Regions from separate parts of the Homo sapiens genome. Here region 2 is linked to region 1. The links are contacts of gene promoters, found by promoter capture Hi-C in human tissues and cell types (Jung and others, 2019). All regions are on one chromosome and are shown on one strand. Each heading gives the region's core, a stretch centred on a gene start or on the middle of the fragment in contact. The rest is flanking DNA. Distances are from core to core; before and after follow the strand shown.

What was found. Contacts are between HindIII fragments. The study calls those that stand out against the background at their distance.
Region 2: a fragment that was not itself captured here is called in contact with the fragment with the promoter of TMCC2 in region 1 in 6 of the 25 tissues and cell types used here (bladder, liver, lymphoblastoid cells and 3 more).

The regions. Positions count from the first base shown.
Region 1 is chr1:205,225,189-205,232,275 of GRCh38, reverse strand. TMCC2 (transmembrane and coiled-coil domain family 2) reads right to left here and starts at 4,330. Exons shown (of 5, transcript NM_014858.4): 1 at 3,505-4,330. The coding sequence starts at 3,711. RefSeq lists a silencer at 4,230-4,409 and an enhancer at 4,540-4,679. The HindIII fragment of the contact is 10,382 bases long and covers 1-7,087 here.
Region 2 is chr1:205,339,774-205,346,549 of GRCh38, reverse strand. KLHDC8A (kelch domain containing 8A) reads left to right here. Exons shown (of 6, transcript NM_018203.3): 2 at 2,757-3,321; 3 at 6,742-6,776. The coding sequence starts at 2,946. Among named protein-coding and RNA genes, the nearest start is that of KLHDC8A, 14 kb to the left of the region's middle. RefSeq lists an enhancer at 2,713-3,273 and a silencer at 6,571-6,620. The HindIII fragment of the contact is 5,653 bases long and covers 2,455-6,776 here.

The sequences.
Region 1 (7,087 bases), core at 3,081-5,580:
TATCTGCATGAGCCTCCTGTGAGGCAATGTCCATTTTTAGGTTATTTTTCAATTACAGTTTTAAAATTGCTGCTTAACTACTACTTTTCACTGGCCCTTCCCACCCTATAATCACAGATCCCAGGGCACTGTAGCAGAAATTTACAGTGTACAGTAAGATGGTCCACAGTGCTGAAGGAACAGAGGGAGACCATAGGAGCCCATGAAACCACTAACTGTCACTAAACACCATTCAGATTTCTTTGGCAAAGATAAAAATTCTCTCCTCTTCCAATACCGCCCCAACCTCTACGGAGGTGCTTTACACAGAGTCCTTTATTATTATTATTATTATTTTTGCCCCTTTCTCAAGATGATTTCTTCCAATGCACTTAATTCATCACAGTGCCTGGAGCTGTCATGAGAAAACAGAAATGGAACTAAGATACCAAAAGTTCTCATCTCCAAAGTTTAAAATGAAAACAAAAGCAAACCAGAACTGCTTATCTGCCTTGACCAAACACAGGTATGAGGTAGGGGAGCATTAAAAATTAAACACCCTTCTGTGGTACCACCATCAAATCTAAAACAAGTCAACTTCTACCCAGTTCCAGAGTCAATAATGGAATTTTTCTATCATTGGAAAACTGTGCCAGCATTGGAAAACAATTTTTCCAGCACTGGAAAGCAAGTTTGGAGGGGCTGGGCACGGTGGCTCACACCTGTAATCCCAGCTTTTTGGGAGAATGAGGCAGGAGTTTCGCTTGAGTCCAGGAGTTCAAGACCAGCCTAGGCAATATAGCAAGACCCTGTCTCTACAAAAAATTTAAAAATTAACCAGGCATGGTGGCGTGTGCCTGTAGTACCAGCTACTTGGGAGGCTGAGATTGGGGAGTCACTTGAGCCTGGGAGTTTGAGACTGCAGTGAGTCGTGGTCATGCTACTGCACTCTAGCCTGAGTGACAGAGCAAGACTCTGTCTCAAAATAAATAAATAAATAAGTTTGGACACACTCCGATATTCCTAGTCCCTTTCACCAGAAAAAGGCTCGGAAAAGTTGAGTGATTTGCCCAAGACCACACAGCAAATCAAACTGTGAAAGTCCCCAAGTCACATCTGGTTGGAAGTCCCTTGCACCCGGTAGTAAACATGTTGTGATGAAGCAGACAGAGATAAACAGGAAAAGCCCTGCTTGTTTCCCCATGCTCCCACAAGCAGGCTGCAGCTGGGTTTTCTGCTCCTTACTGGGTCCACATTGCTGGGTTCAATGGTATGTTTTCTCTGGGGGCGGGGGGGGGGATGGGGGGATGGGGTGGATGGGGGCGCGGGGTAAGGGGAAGCCTCCTTTTCTTACACCTGATTTCAATTCTGGTTGAGGGCAGTTCGGCAGTTAATATCAAGTGTAAAGTTGTTACTACATCTGCCCCTGACCAGAATGAGGGCACTGCCAAAAAAAAAGAAAGAAAGAAAGAAAAAAAAGATAATACAGGAGAGTGGAAACGTGGCATCCCTTAAGGCGTCCCTCTACAGAGACACTGCAGCCCCCATGCCATGACCAACCCATCTTCCTCATGAAGGCAACTGGGGGAATAAATGGAGAAAGCAGTTTCCACTGCTGTCCTGAGTTGGAGAGTGGGGAATTTCCAAAGCTGCCTCTCACAGACTCAGCTGAGGGTCTCATTGGTCAAAGATTCAGGGTTTGCTGGCCAGACTCATCTGGACCGGCTCAGAATGAGGCTGAAGTCTGCAGCAGAAGGCTAGCCTCCTCCCCACAACAGCATTCAAGAGACCCCTTCCCCCTCACCATCTCACTTAAAACAGGAACTACACCTCCTGACCACATGGGATGGACTCGGGGGTGACAGCAGAGATAAACACCAAGGACTCCCTGGGCCTGGCAAAAGCTCAAGCTTCTTGTGCAGAGAGAGCCTATCCCACAGAGATCCTCTAGACATAAGTCTAGCCACGAAGCTCTGAAAAGGACGGCGGCAGAACCAGAGTTCAGATTTGAATAATTACTGCAAAGTTTAAAAAACACACACAACAATAACCTAGTCGTCCCCCTTTTCACTCCTCCCCAAGGCACACAGACAGGTAACATACACAGGTAAGAGCACACACACTCACCTGCGCTCTGACTTCCTGACTCTGAGCTGCTCAGGCCAAATGAGGAATGGCATTGGCTTATTCTGGTGAGCTCCTTAGTGGCTGCTGCCATAGGATATAGGCTTTATTAAATGCAACAGAGTCCTTTCCGTTTCCCTAGCCCAGACCCTGCACCTTCTCTGGAGAAAATAACTGTGAGGCATCAATTTCCAAGGCATCTAAGTTCCTTCCTTGGGCTGACATCTCGCTCAGCTGGACGGTGAGCTGGCTTGAGAAGCCTGAGCCTGCAGTCCCTGTGGCAGTTCCGGCAAAGGTGCATTATTTATCTCAGCTGCTGTTTTAATTGATAGAGATATATTCAAGACAGCTCGCCAATTGTCTCGGCAACCTCAGGCCGGAAAATAAACAGCTCCATGTGAACAGTTCTTTCGGCTTCTGGTTCTAGCTGCTGGCTCAGCATGTATGCAACTTGAACTGAGGCCCCAAACCAGCCCAAGCACTGCTCCACCACCTGTCAGTTCTCCACCCTGGGGGTTGGTTCAGCAGGCAGGCAGAGATCTCCAAGCACTATCTTAACCTCTGGCTCCACCTAACGGCAGGAAATCCACCTTCCCCCCCCGCCCCCGCCACCACCCCCCCCCCCCCGCCCCTTCACAGATCGGCAAACTGAGCTTCATCCAGGAAAGCGCTCAAAGATCCCAATGGGGCCCGGCACGGTGGCTCACGCCTGTAATCCCAGCACTTAGGAAGGCCGAGGCGGGTAGATCACCTGAGGTCAGTTCAAGACCAGCCTGGCCAACATGGCGAAACCCCGTCTCTACTAAAAATACAAAAATTACCCGGGCGTGGTGGCGGGTGCCTGTAATCCCAGCTACTCTGGAGGCTGAGACAGGAGAATCGCTTGAACCGAGGAGGTGGAGGTTGCAGTGAGCCGAGATCGCGCCACTGCACTCCAGCCTGGGCGACAGAACGAGACTCCGTCTCACACACATACACACACACACACACACACACACACACACACACACACACACACAAAGATCCCAATGGGTAGAGACTTACTCAGCAAGGAAAACTAATGGTCACCTGCTGTCCACTTTTTGGTTAGCATCTTGGATTTCTCCAGCCCTTTGTCTGCGAATAACACTTCACACATTATTCAAACAATCTCGGATGGGTGAGTCACTAAAACGCTTGCTGAATAATGGGGAACAAACACAGAGACCTGACACGGAGCTGAAAGACAGAGGCATAAATGGTACCTGACGTCCCCCCTGGGGTGCCAGCAAAGCATCCGCTCATCCTCTCTGACCTTTGCCTGGCTTCCCCCCTCACTTTTATCCTGTTAAAGCACTTCTGCGTGGGGTGGCGAGAGCTAAGTCGCGGGCTGGGCTTGCCGGGGGGATGGTCTGCGCTCACCTTTAAATCAGGAGGCTTGCTTCGGGGACCTGGGTTGGGCGCCGCGGCAGCGCCGGCGTCTGAAGTTGGCCCGCCAGCAGAGTTAGCACCCGTGGTCTCCCCAGGCCGGAGGTCCGCGCCCGGCAGGTGGGAAGCGGCATCTTCCAGCCCAGCTCCATCCTCCTCGCCCTGTTGTTGCTGCAGCTCGTCCGATCTGCACCTCTTCATGGTGTATGTGGGTCGGCAAGGGGAATCTGTCCTTCCAGCGCGCCGTCTTGGGGAAGACCGCACCCCCTCTTATATTCATATGAGGCCTGGGGTCTAAATTATTAACAAGGAGGGGAGATGGCAGACCACAATTTCTTGAATTAAAAAAAAAATTCTTAAAGGCGGGTGAGGGAGGGGCGAGAAGGGGGAGCCTTGGTTATAGCTTGGAATAGTTCATTTCGACCTGGGGAGCGAAGACAGGTCACAGTCGAGGCTGGGCAGCAAGAGTCCTTGGGCAGTCATTGCAGGAGGGAGAAGGGAGACAACCCCCGGCCCCCAAACTTTCTGCTTCAGGGCATGGGCAGGACGGAGAGGAGCTGGGCGGCACAGCGCATCCCTCCCGGCCGGCCGGGCTGCGGGGCGAGGCGGGGCGCGGGGCAGCCGGCCGGGCAGGTCCTAGTCGGCCGCCATCGGCGCCGGCTGCAGCCCCCGGCCCTGCAACCGGCCCCTGCCCCGCATGGTCCGGCCGCGGAGCCCGCAGCGCGCCCGGCCCCCTCCCCGGCCCGCGCGCCCCGCTCCCCGCCTGACGCGCAGCCTGCCGCAAAGCCGCGACCGCGGCCCGAGCCCGCGGCGAGCGCGCAACCTACCCCGCCCGGCTGCCTCCGCCCGGGAGCGGGAAGGCGAGGCTAGGAGGGAGTGACAGCGGCAACCGGCCAATGGGAAGCCCGCGGGGCTGAGGGGGCGTCGCGCAGCTTCGTTTTTGGGGTTGGTTGCACCGTGCGATCCCCCAGGAGAGGGCTGGAGGACGATGCTGCTGCGTTTTTGCATTGCAGAGAGCGGGCTGCAGTTCAGGGGCGGGGGCGGCGGGCGTGGGAGTCGCAGTTTCGGCTCCAGCTTGAGGGACCCTGCCGAGGAGGGCTCGCCCAGGATTTCCTCCACCCATTCGCTTTATTTGGCGAGAAGGAGCACAAGAGGGATGTTTATTATCACTGCTTTTTGGGGCTCTTAACTTTGCACCTTCTAGCCATAAGGGAGACACCTATCCCCTCTAGGATACTTGGTCTGAGTTAAATCTATGCCTACATTCAGAGCTGCAAATGCCAAGGGGAGGGGGCGTTCTCTCCTCATCGCCCCGTCCCCCGCTTTAAGTGCATTATTTCTTAATGAGACTTTACTTGGCATAATTTATGCTCAGAAATTGGGAAGAATTTCATATAAAAACACAATAACGTATGTGAGAGTTCCTTACAAACTGTGAAGCAGCTTTTAAATAAGAAAGGGTATTAATGGCAGGAGGTTGCTACATATAGATGTGTGGAAAGGGAATGCTGTCTCTCTTTGCATAAATCTCAGCCAAACTGTGCTGAGTAATCTGGAAGCAGAAGAGAGCAAACGTTGGGGTTACCAAGATATGGAGAGTAGTAATAATAACAACCCCATCTGAGTGTCTATTGTATGCCTCCTGTGGACACAATGGATTTTACTCATCCAGCAACCAGTGGTTCACAAATTGTGATCCTTGGACTAGCAACTTCAGCATCACACGGGAACTTGATAGAAATGCAAATTCTTGGCCACCAGCCAGACCTAGAGAATCAGAAGTAGTGAGCCAAGAAATCTGTGTTTTGACAAGCCCTCCAGGTAATTCTGACACACACTACCCTTTGAGAACCACTGGCCTAGACAGTGAAGGGGCCACACGGTCTCTAAAGGATTTTACAGTTTACCAATCTCTTTCGCACCCATCATGCCATTGTAGCCTCACTTCAGTCTCACTAGTCGGAGTTTCTTGACTTTCTGTTCTGTCTTCTTCCCATTCCAACCACTCATTTTAATGTGTATCCTAGAAGAGACTAATTTGTTAAGAATTTACTTCAGCCAAGCAGCTACTTTCTAAACTAGGCAGCTCCACTTTTAGAAGATAGGAATTTAGGATGGGCTGGGAATGTGGAACCACCCCCCACATCTACCACAAAGAATCGAGCACAATGTGGAAACACAAAGCTATAAGCCTTTATTTAGCATTTTCAATGGTGAGGGGATGGCAGGATGCCAGTGTAGACCGTGGGCAGGACTAGACAGAACCGGTGGGGGCAGGTTCCCATGGTGCAAGGTTTCAAGCAGAGGAATATACTGCTCCCTGCCTGACTTGGCCCAGATAAGTGCAGCGGCCCCAAAGACCCTGAGCAAGTCTTGAGGGGCACGCGGTGGCCAGCAAATGGTGAGCATGCATTGACACATGTTCATGACCTGACTCGAAGCCGAAGGAAAGTGAAGGGATTTGGTTTAAGGAAGGGATTTGGTTTCGTTTAAGGAAGCAGAGAGCATTATAATTTTGAATTATGCCTCATTTCTATACTAGATAAAAGTTGGTCTTAAGTTTGATTTTTATATTATCATATACATACAGCATGACAGCCACATTTTCTACTTGTCGTCATATTTGCAAGGTGTGATTCAGGTCAGCAAAAAAGTCTGTGGTGTGTTTCATAAAATCAGCTAATACTTTACATTCCATTTTGGAGAGGCATCATAGCATAATGGTTAAGAGCTCAGGCTCTATGGCCAGATAGGGGACAAATCCTAGCTCTGCTCTTCACTGACCATGTGAGTGGGGACACGTTATCTAACCTCTTCATGCTCCAGTTTCTGAATTATTTGGAAGTAGGGATAATGACAGTACCTACCATACAGGGTGTTGGGTAATATATGTAAAGCACTTGGACATTGCCTAGCAAAGAATGAGGGCCATAGCTATAACCACAGATGTCATCCAGTTTCAGAAGTGTTGCACATTTCACTCCAATGCTTCTATCTTCAGGAGTTCAAATGTGTCCCACCAATTTCTGACTTTCACTGAGTGTCATATTATGGAATAAGTGTGCTACTGCCAAAGAAGTTTGGCTGAGAAGTCTGTGTAGAGACCTGAGTGACCTATAACCACCAGTTTGAAGCCAATGGCAAATTTTCATTAGCCGCAGCAAATTCTTGAGCACCTAAGAAAATCAGAACTTGAAAGTACTTTGGTTGGTTGAAATTTTGTTTACGGCATTAGATTATTCTATCATTCTACGTTTCTTTGGGAAAATATAGGCACAAATTATGTTTTGATATTCAAGATTAGACAAAAGTTTGCAGATACACAATGCAAGTGATTATATTTTCTATGTAGGAGTAGCATTTCCATTCTGTTTTGGCACACCTAGTTAATTACAAGGAAATAACATGATTTAGTGGGAAGAACATTGGTCTTGGTGTCAGAAAATTCATGTAAGCATTCTAGTTCGGTTACTTCTTGTGAGCTTAACCTCTTTCACCCTCGGTTTTCTCATCTATAAACCAGGGCTAATACTATCTATCTTCACTGGTTATTGTGAGGATGAAGGTAGATAATGCA
Region 2 (6,776 bases), core at 4,032-6,531, 110 kb before region 1:
TAGATGATCTCAACAAGTGACACAAATAAAACATACAGAGTGGAGCTCTGTCTATCTGCTTATTAAGCTGCCCCAGCTGGGGTGGTGAAGGCTCATTTAAGAGGCCTGGCCTCACTGCTTTGGTAGAAGGCTCAGTGGGTAAGAGAAGCTAAGGATGGACTCCAACAAGCGCTTTTAAGGAAGGTCTATGGCTTTAAATCTTCCCGATCACCTGTTCTGATTTTGTGAAGACAGTTCAAGCTGAGGTAAAGGTGCGTTCCCTATTTCTCCAGGCAGATAGAGACTCCTAGGAAGAAAGGGAAATGTTTGGTGTTTCCGTGAAATTTCATGAATTCACACCCCATGCTTTTGGAATTTATGAGTTCTGATTGAATAGGGAAAACAGACACAGACTTCCTCTGTGAAGGTTCTAGAGGTGCTTACTTTGTAAGTACAGAGAATTCGAACTAAAAAACAGTGGAATTTTTAAGCCAAGAACTCAAAGTAGTAAGATGGGCCCGTTGGATGGAGTGCAATGGTGCAATCTCAGCTTGCTGAAACCTCCGCTTCCCGCGTTCAAGTGATTCTCCTGCCTCTGCCTTCTGAGTAGTTGGGATTACAGGCATGCATCACGGCACCCAGCTAATTTTGCATTTTTAGTAGTGATGAGATTTCACCATGTTGGCCAGGCTGGTCTCGAATTCCTGACCTCAGGTGATCCACGTACCTCGGCCATCCAAAGTGCTGGGATTACAGGCATGAGCCACCAAATCCGGCCTCGATTTTATACTTTTGGGGGTGGAAGGTTTGTTCTGTTTTGTTTTGTTTTTGAGACAGAGTCTTGCTCTGTCACCCAGGCTGGAGTGCAGTGGCGCAATCTCAGCTCACTGCAATCTCCGCCTCCCAGGCTCAGGTGAACCTCCTGCCTCAGCCTCCCGAGTATTTGGGACTACAGGTGCATGCCACCATGCCTGGCTAATTTTTTTTGCATTCTTAGTAGAGATGGGGCTTCACCATGTTGGCCAGGCTGGTCTGGAACTCCTGACCTCAAGTGATCTGCCTGCTTGGGACTCCCAAAGTGCCTGGATTACAAGTATGAGCCACCGCACCCGGCCAGAATTATATTGTATCTTTACCGATCAATTTCAAAACCCTGGTTGTGATATATACTGTGCTATAGTTTTGTAAGATGTTGCCATTGGGAGAAACTGGGTAAAGGGTATTTTTTCTTACAGCTGCATGTGAATCTAAAATTTTCTCAAAATTAAAACTCTAGTTTAAAAATATATAGACATAGATCTATCTATCTGTATAAGAAACTGAGGTTCAGAGTAGTTAAGTAATTTTCAGAGGCAAGATTCAAACCCAGGTCTTCCAGCCTCCCAAGCCTGCGTGTTTCAAGACTTGGCTACATTTGAAAGAACCAGGTAGGAGGAAGATCCCATCGGCCTTGCAGTCCACCAGACCAGGTGGTTGGTTCTCTGGCCTCATGGGCACCTTTGTTACTGGGGACTACTGTCCTATAAACGGTATTAGAGAGTGGCTTGCAAGGATTGTTTGTCAAGCCCTGCGAGTTGGTGCCGAGGACGGAGATTTGATCATCAGGTTTCCCCTTCCTGAAGCTCGTGAAGGGTGATGGTGGCGGTGGTGGGTTGTGCATGTGTGTGGCAGATGGAAAAACTTCCCGTGTGTGTTTGTCTATGTTGGTGTCTCTGGCTGTGTCCACATGTCTGTCTGTGCATCACTGGTCAGTGTCTCTGTGGATGTGTCTATTTCGAGGGCGGCGGCAGGGTGATGTGTAAGTTATGCTTCCATGTGCAAGTGGGTGTATATGTTATATTTGAAAGTACCTGTGCCAGGTCTGCGTGCATCACACCCACATAAGTTGTTTTCATGAGGTTAAACTATATGATAATACCTCCCCCCAGCAAAGCTGGCTATTGAGTTAGCAGGTCACGAGCTGAGTCTGTGTACTGTAGATAAACTGGGTAATTGGACTCTCCGCCTCTTCATCCAAAACAAACACAAAAGCCCGCCCCCACACCGGAGGGCGTCTGTGCCCGTCATCTGGGTGCTTGGTTCTAGTGCCCTGCTTTCCTTGACCCCCTGTAGACAAGGTGAGCGCTTCCGCGGCGGGGCTTCTGTACAGAGGTCACAGCACGCTGTGTCCCGGGACGCACGCGGATTCCTGCACAGGTGTGGTGGCTGCGGATGGGGACGGAGCGGAGCAGGCTCGCCGGCCTCCTCCCCGGCGGCGGCTCCGCTTCTCCTTCCTGCTGTTCACTTCATCTCCTCATCTGCATGTGTGACAGCGGCGCGCGGACTGGGGAAGGACAGAGCGCCCTCTCCCCGGCTCCCGTGCAGCGGGGCGGGGGCTCCGGGCTCCCCAGTGATGCGTCGTCTGCGCCTCGCCGCCGCGCTCCCCGGGCCTGGCAGCGTAAGTGATGCGGGGGCGGGGGCGCCGAGACTGCGGGGAGGGGGCGCGGGGAAAGAGAGGCGTCGACGCCGAGAGACGCTAACTCCTTCCTCCGCCCGGGGACTGCCCGGCACCCCGAACCCCTGAAAGCCCCGGCCTGCGGCTTGCTTCGGCAGTGTCCGAGCAGCGGGTGGGGAGGGGGCGGGGACCAAGCAGTGCAGGGTGTGGTGCTGCCCCCGGGGGGCGCCCTCCGCCGCCGCGTCTTCCCAGTGAAGTTGACCAGGGGCTGCGGAGCCCATCCGCTGCCCGCCGGAGGGCGCGTGGCCCCAGCTGCCCTTGATTCACCGCGTTCCCCCCGCAGGGCCAGGCGTGGACGCCGCCGGACCGCTGAGACTCGGGGCACGGTGAAGCACTGGCCGGGGTCTGGCTGGGTCCGGCGCTCGGGAGCCAGATGGAGGTGGCGATAGGGGCCGTGGGAGCCGGCGCCAAGTAGCCGGTGGACCCCCGCGCTCGCACCTCTCCCGGCGCCCGGGCGCTCCCCAAGGCTGCCATGGAGGTGCCTAACGTCAAGGACTTCCAGTGGAAGCGCCTGGCGCCACTGCCCAGCCGCCGGGTCTACTGCTCCCTGCTGGAGACCGGGGGCCAGGTCTATGCCATCGGGGGATGTGACGACAACGGCGTCCCCATGGACTGCTTCGAGGTCTACTCCCCGGAGGCCGACCAGTGGACCGCCTTGCCCCGGCTGCCCACAGCCCGGGCGGGGGTGGCCGTCACCGCCCTGGGGAAGCGGATCATGGTGATTGGGGGCGTGGGCACCAATCAGCTGCCCCTGAAGGTCGTGGAGATGTACAACATCGATGAGGGCAAGTGGAAGAAGAGGAGCATGCTGCGTGAGGCCGCCATGGGCATTTCTGTCACGGCCAAAGGCAAGTGGGGCCAGGGCTGAGGGCGGCCAGAGAGAAGGAAGTGGGGGGCCAGGAGGGAAACAGATGGAAACCAACAGGCATTTGCTGTGGGCTGTGGAGTTTAGTGCCATATTTCTGCAGACCCCATGCGTTCAGCAAAATGCCTGCACCTCCCGCCGCCACACCCCAGCCCCTGAAACCTGCCTTGCCTTGCAGGTGCCACCACCCCCAGACACCTATTTGGGGTCCTGACAATGCTCACTCCATCCTTGTAGCGTCACCAGGCCCCACTGAGAGGGCTTTGGGACCTGATTCCAGGGGCCTCTTCCACCTTCAACCTGCCCCTCTGCCTCCCAATCTCAGAGACGCTCAGTGGAGACCAGAATGTTCCTGAGGGTTCATGTCTGGCCGCGTTTCACTAAGTCCTCAGGGCATGCATGTCCTCACTACATGGTTTTGTGATTCTCATTTTCCTTTCTCAAAGCCCCCATTTCATTCTTTTCACGCCTAGTACAGCCCAGAACCTAGAGCTCCGAAAGCTCTTTTGCTAAAACACAAAGGGTTTTGTGGGAGATGGTTCAATGGGAATTAGGAGACACCAAGTTCAGACACACCTGAGCAGCACAGGCTTGCAGTGGGATGCAACCTTCCCTCCGTCTCCTCTTCCTCCCTCCCTCTTTTGCTAAACCATACTAGCTGCATGTCAAGTCTACTATAGATTGGGAACCAGTATTTCTTGAGCACCTGCTCTGTCCCCAGCACAGTGCCAGGCTCCAGGAGGGAAGGAAAGAGGCGGAAGATCTGTTCCCTGCCTTCAGGAGCCTGGATCTGACCAATGAAAGTAACTAGAGAGAAACTCTAGTGCAGAATCCCCCAGGGCAGCATGGCCAGTGGGGCTTCTGTGACCTCCCAGTAAGAAGGATGGAAGGCCTGGAGGCCCACGGAGAGCAAGGGAGGGAAAGAGCACATCTTCATCCCAGGCCTCAGTAAATGGTCTTGAAAGATTAAGAACTAACATTCATTGAATCCTTACCATTTGTGCTTTGTATACAGGTAAGTGCTAGTATTACTCTGATTTTAGAGAGAAGCAGTGTAAGGCCCAAAGAGTTAGTTAAAACACTGGCCCAAGGTGACACAGATAGTGATGATTGAGTCTGTGCTCTTACTATGGCACTGAATGGGTTCTGCAGTTAGTTTAATAAGCATTTACATGCCTGTGTGCCAGGCATTGTGCCAGATGCTGGGGCTGTAGATTTAACAAATTCTCAACGGCCTACAGTCTATTGAAAGAAACAAAGATTGGCCGGGCGCGGTGGCTCACGCCTGTAATCCCAGCATTTTGGGAGGCTGAGGCGGGCGGATCATGAGGTCAGGAGATCAAGACCATCCCAGCTAACATGGTGAAACCCGTCTCTACTAAAAATATAAAAAATTAGCCTGGCACAGTGGCGGGCGCCTGTAGTCCCAGCTACTCGGGAGGCTGAGGCAGGAGAATGGCGTGAACCTGGGAGGCAGAGCTTGCAGTGAGCCGAGATCGCGCCACTGCACTCCAGCCTGGGTGACAGAGCAAGACTCCGTATCAAAAAAAAAAAGAAAAAGAAACAAAGATTATTCAGTAACAGGTGGCAATTAGGGTGATGGAATAGGGTAACAGAAGGCACTGAGCCGGTGCTGTCGACCCAGGCTTGTAGTTCAGGGACGCCCAGATGGGTCTGAAAGGATGAGTAAGAATTGGGCACAAAAACAGTAGTGAGGAGTGGATGGGAGGATTCCCAGGAGGAGGAGTTTCAAGTAACACAGGATGGGAGGGGTGGATCTTGTGCAAGGTGAATTCCTCATTAGCAGGCACCGTCTTCCAGCCTCAGGCTAGGGTTGGCATTTTTTTTTTTTCCAATAAGATTGGAAAGTAGGAGGAAATAGTACTCATCCCTACAATCACCTTAAGAATAAAGGCCTCCTGGAGCCAGAAGCATTGAGGACTGGCTGCTGGCAGACAGAATCCCGGGCAGGGGTGGCTCCCTGAGAAAGAGAGGCCTGGGAGGTCCTGGGGTGGGACCCAGGGAAACACAGATGCCTTGCCCATCCTCTCTGGTGTAGTGAAGTCCTTTGAAAGGCCACCTACAGTCAAGAGTAGTAGAGAATGAGAGGAGACTCACTTCTCAAAGTATCCCAGCTCACTTCCTGGGCAGGGTTTCTTAAAGGGACCAGTACTCTCTCCAAAGCTTCACCCTCATTCACCCCTAGCCCTATCTCATTTAGTTGAAGTGACTCCTGGATCCCACAAGTTTCCCAATTTGTGAAGGAAGATGGCATTCCCCAATGGGGCTGGCAGACACAGAACCAGCAGCAGTCCAGTGTCCCATAGGCCAGTGACAGCATGACTCATCTTATTTCTAAAGGCCCCTGCCATATCTAAAAATGCCAGTTTGTGAATGCCTGGGGAAAGGGCATCAGAAGAATATCTCTACTCATTGAAGCCAGGCGTGGTGGCTCATGCCTGTATTCTCAACACTTTGGGAGGCCAAGGCAGGTGGATCACCTGAGGTCAGGAGTTTGAGACCAGCCTGGCCAACACGGTGAAACCCCGTCTCTACTAAAAATACCAGGTGTGGTGGCAGGCATCTGTAATCCCAGCTACTCTGGAGGCTGAGGCAGGAGAATCGCTTGAACCCGAGAGGCAGAGGTTGCAGTGAGCTGAGATCACACCATTGCACTCCAGCCTGGGCAACAAAACAAGACTCTGTCTCAAAAAAAAAAGAATACCTCTCCTCTTTGGCTTCCCCTCTGGCTGCCCAGGGAGGACAGTGAAGGGGATAAGACCTGCAAAGGGTTTTCCAGGCCTAAACTTCACGCAGTGTTTCAGGCTTAGCCAAAGGGCTGGACACTAAGGAAGACTAGGGCGTGTAGTCGTACCATGGCTTCAAAAGACCCAGGCAGCTGGGCACAGTCGCTCACACCTGCAATCCCAGCACTTTGGAAGGTCGAGGCAAGAGGATTGCTTGAGCCCCGGAGTTCGAGACCAGCCTGGGCAACATGACAAAACCCTGTCTCTACAAAAAATACAAAAATTAGTCAGGTGTGGTGGCATGGACCTGTAGTCCCAGCTACTTGGGAGGCTGAGATGGGAAGATCTCTTGAGCCCAGGAGGTCAAGGTTGCAGTGAACCATGATTATGCCACACTCCAGCCTGGATGACAGAATGAGACCATATCTAAAAAAATAATAATAATAAAAATAAAAAAAAAGAAACAGACTCTCAGGCTTAGCTATAGCAGGAACTTCTTTGAATGGTGCTATCAACCACACTGATACAGATATGACTCACTCTGGCTGAGCAGTGGTTGAAAGCTTGGCCTGGCCATGGGAGGCAATAGATGCTGGTGGGCCTGTCTTGCTGTACCTGTGAGCTAAGCCAGGGGCATGTATGGCCTTTCTTCTTAGATTACCGAGTATATGCGGCAGGCGGGATGGGCCTG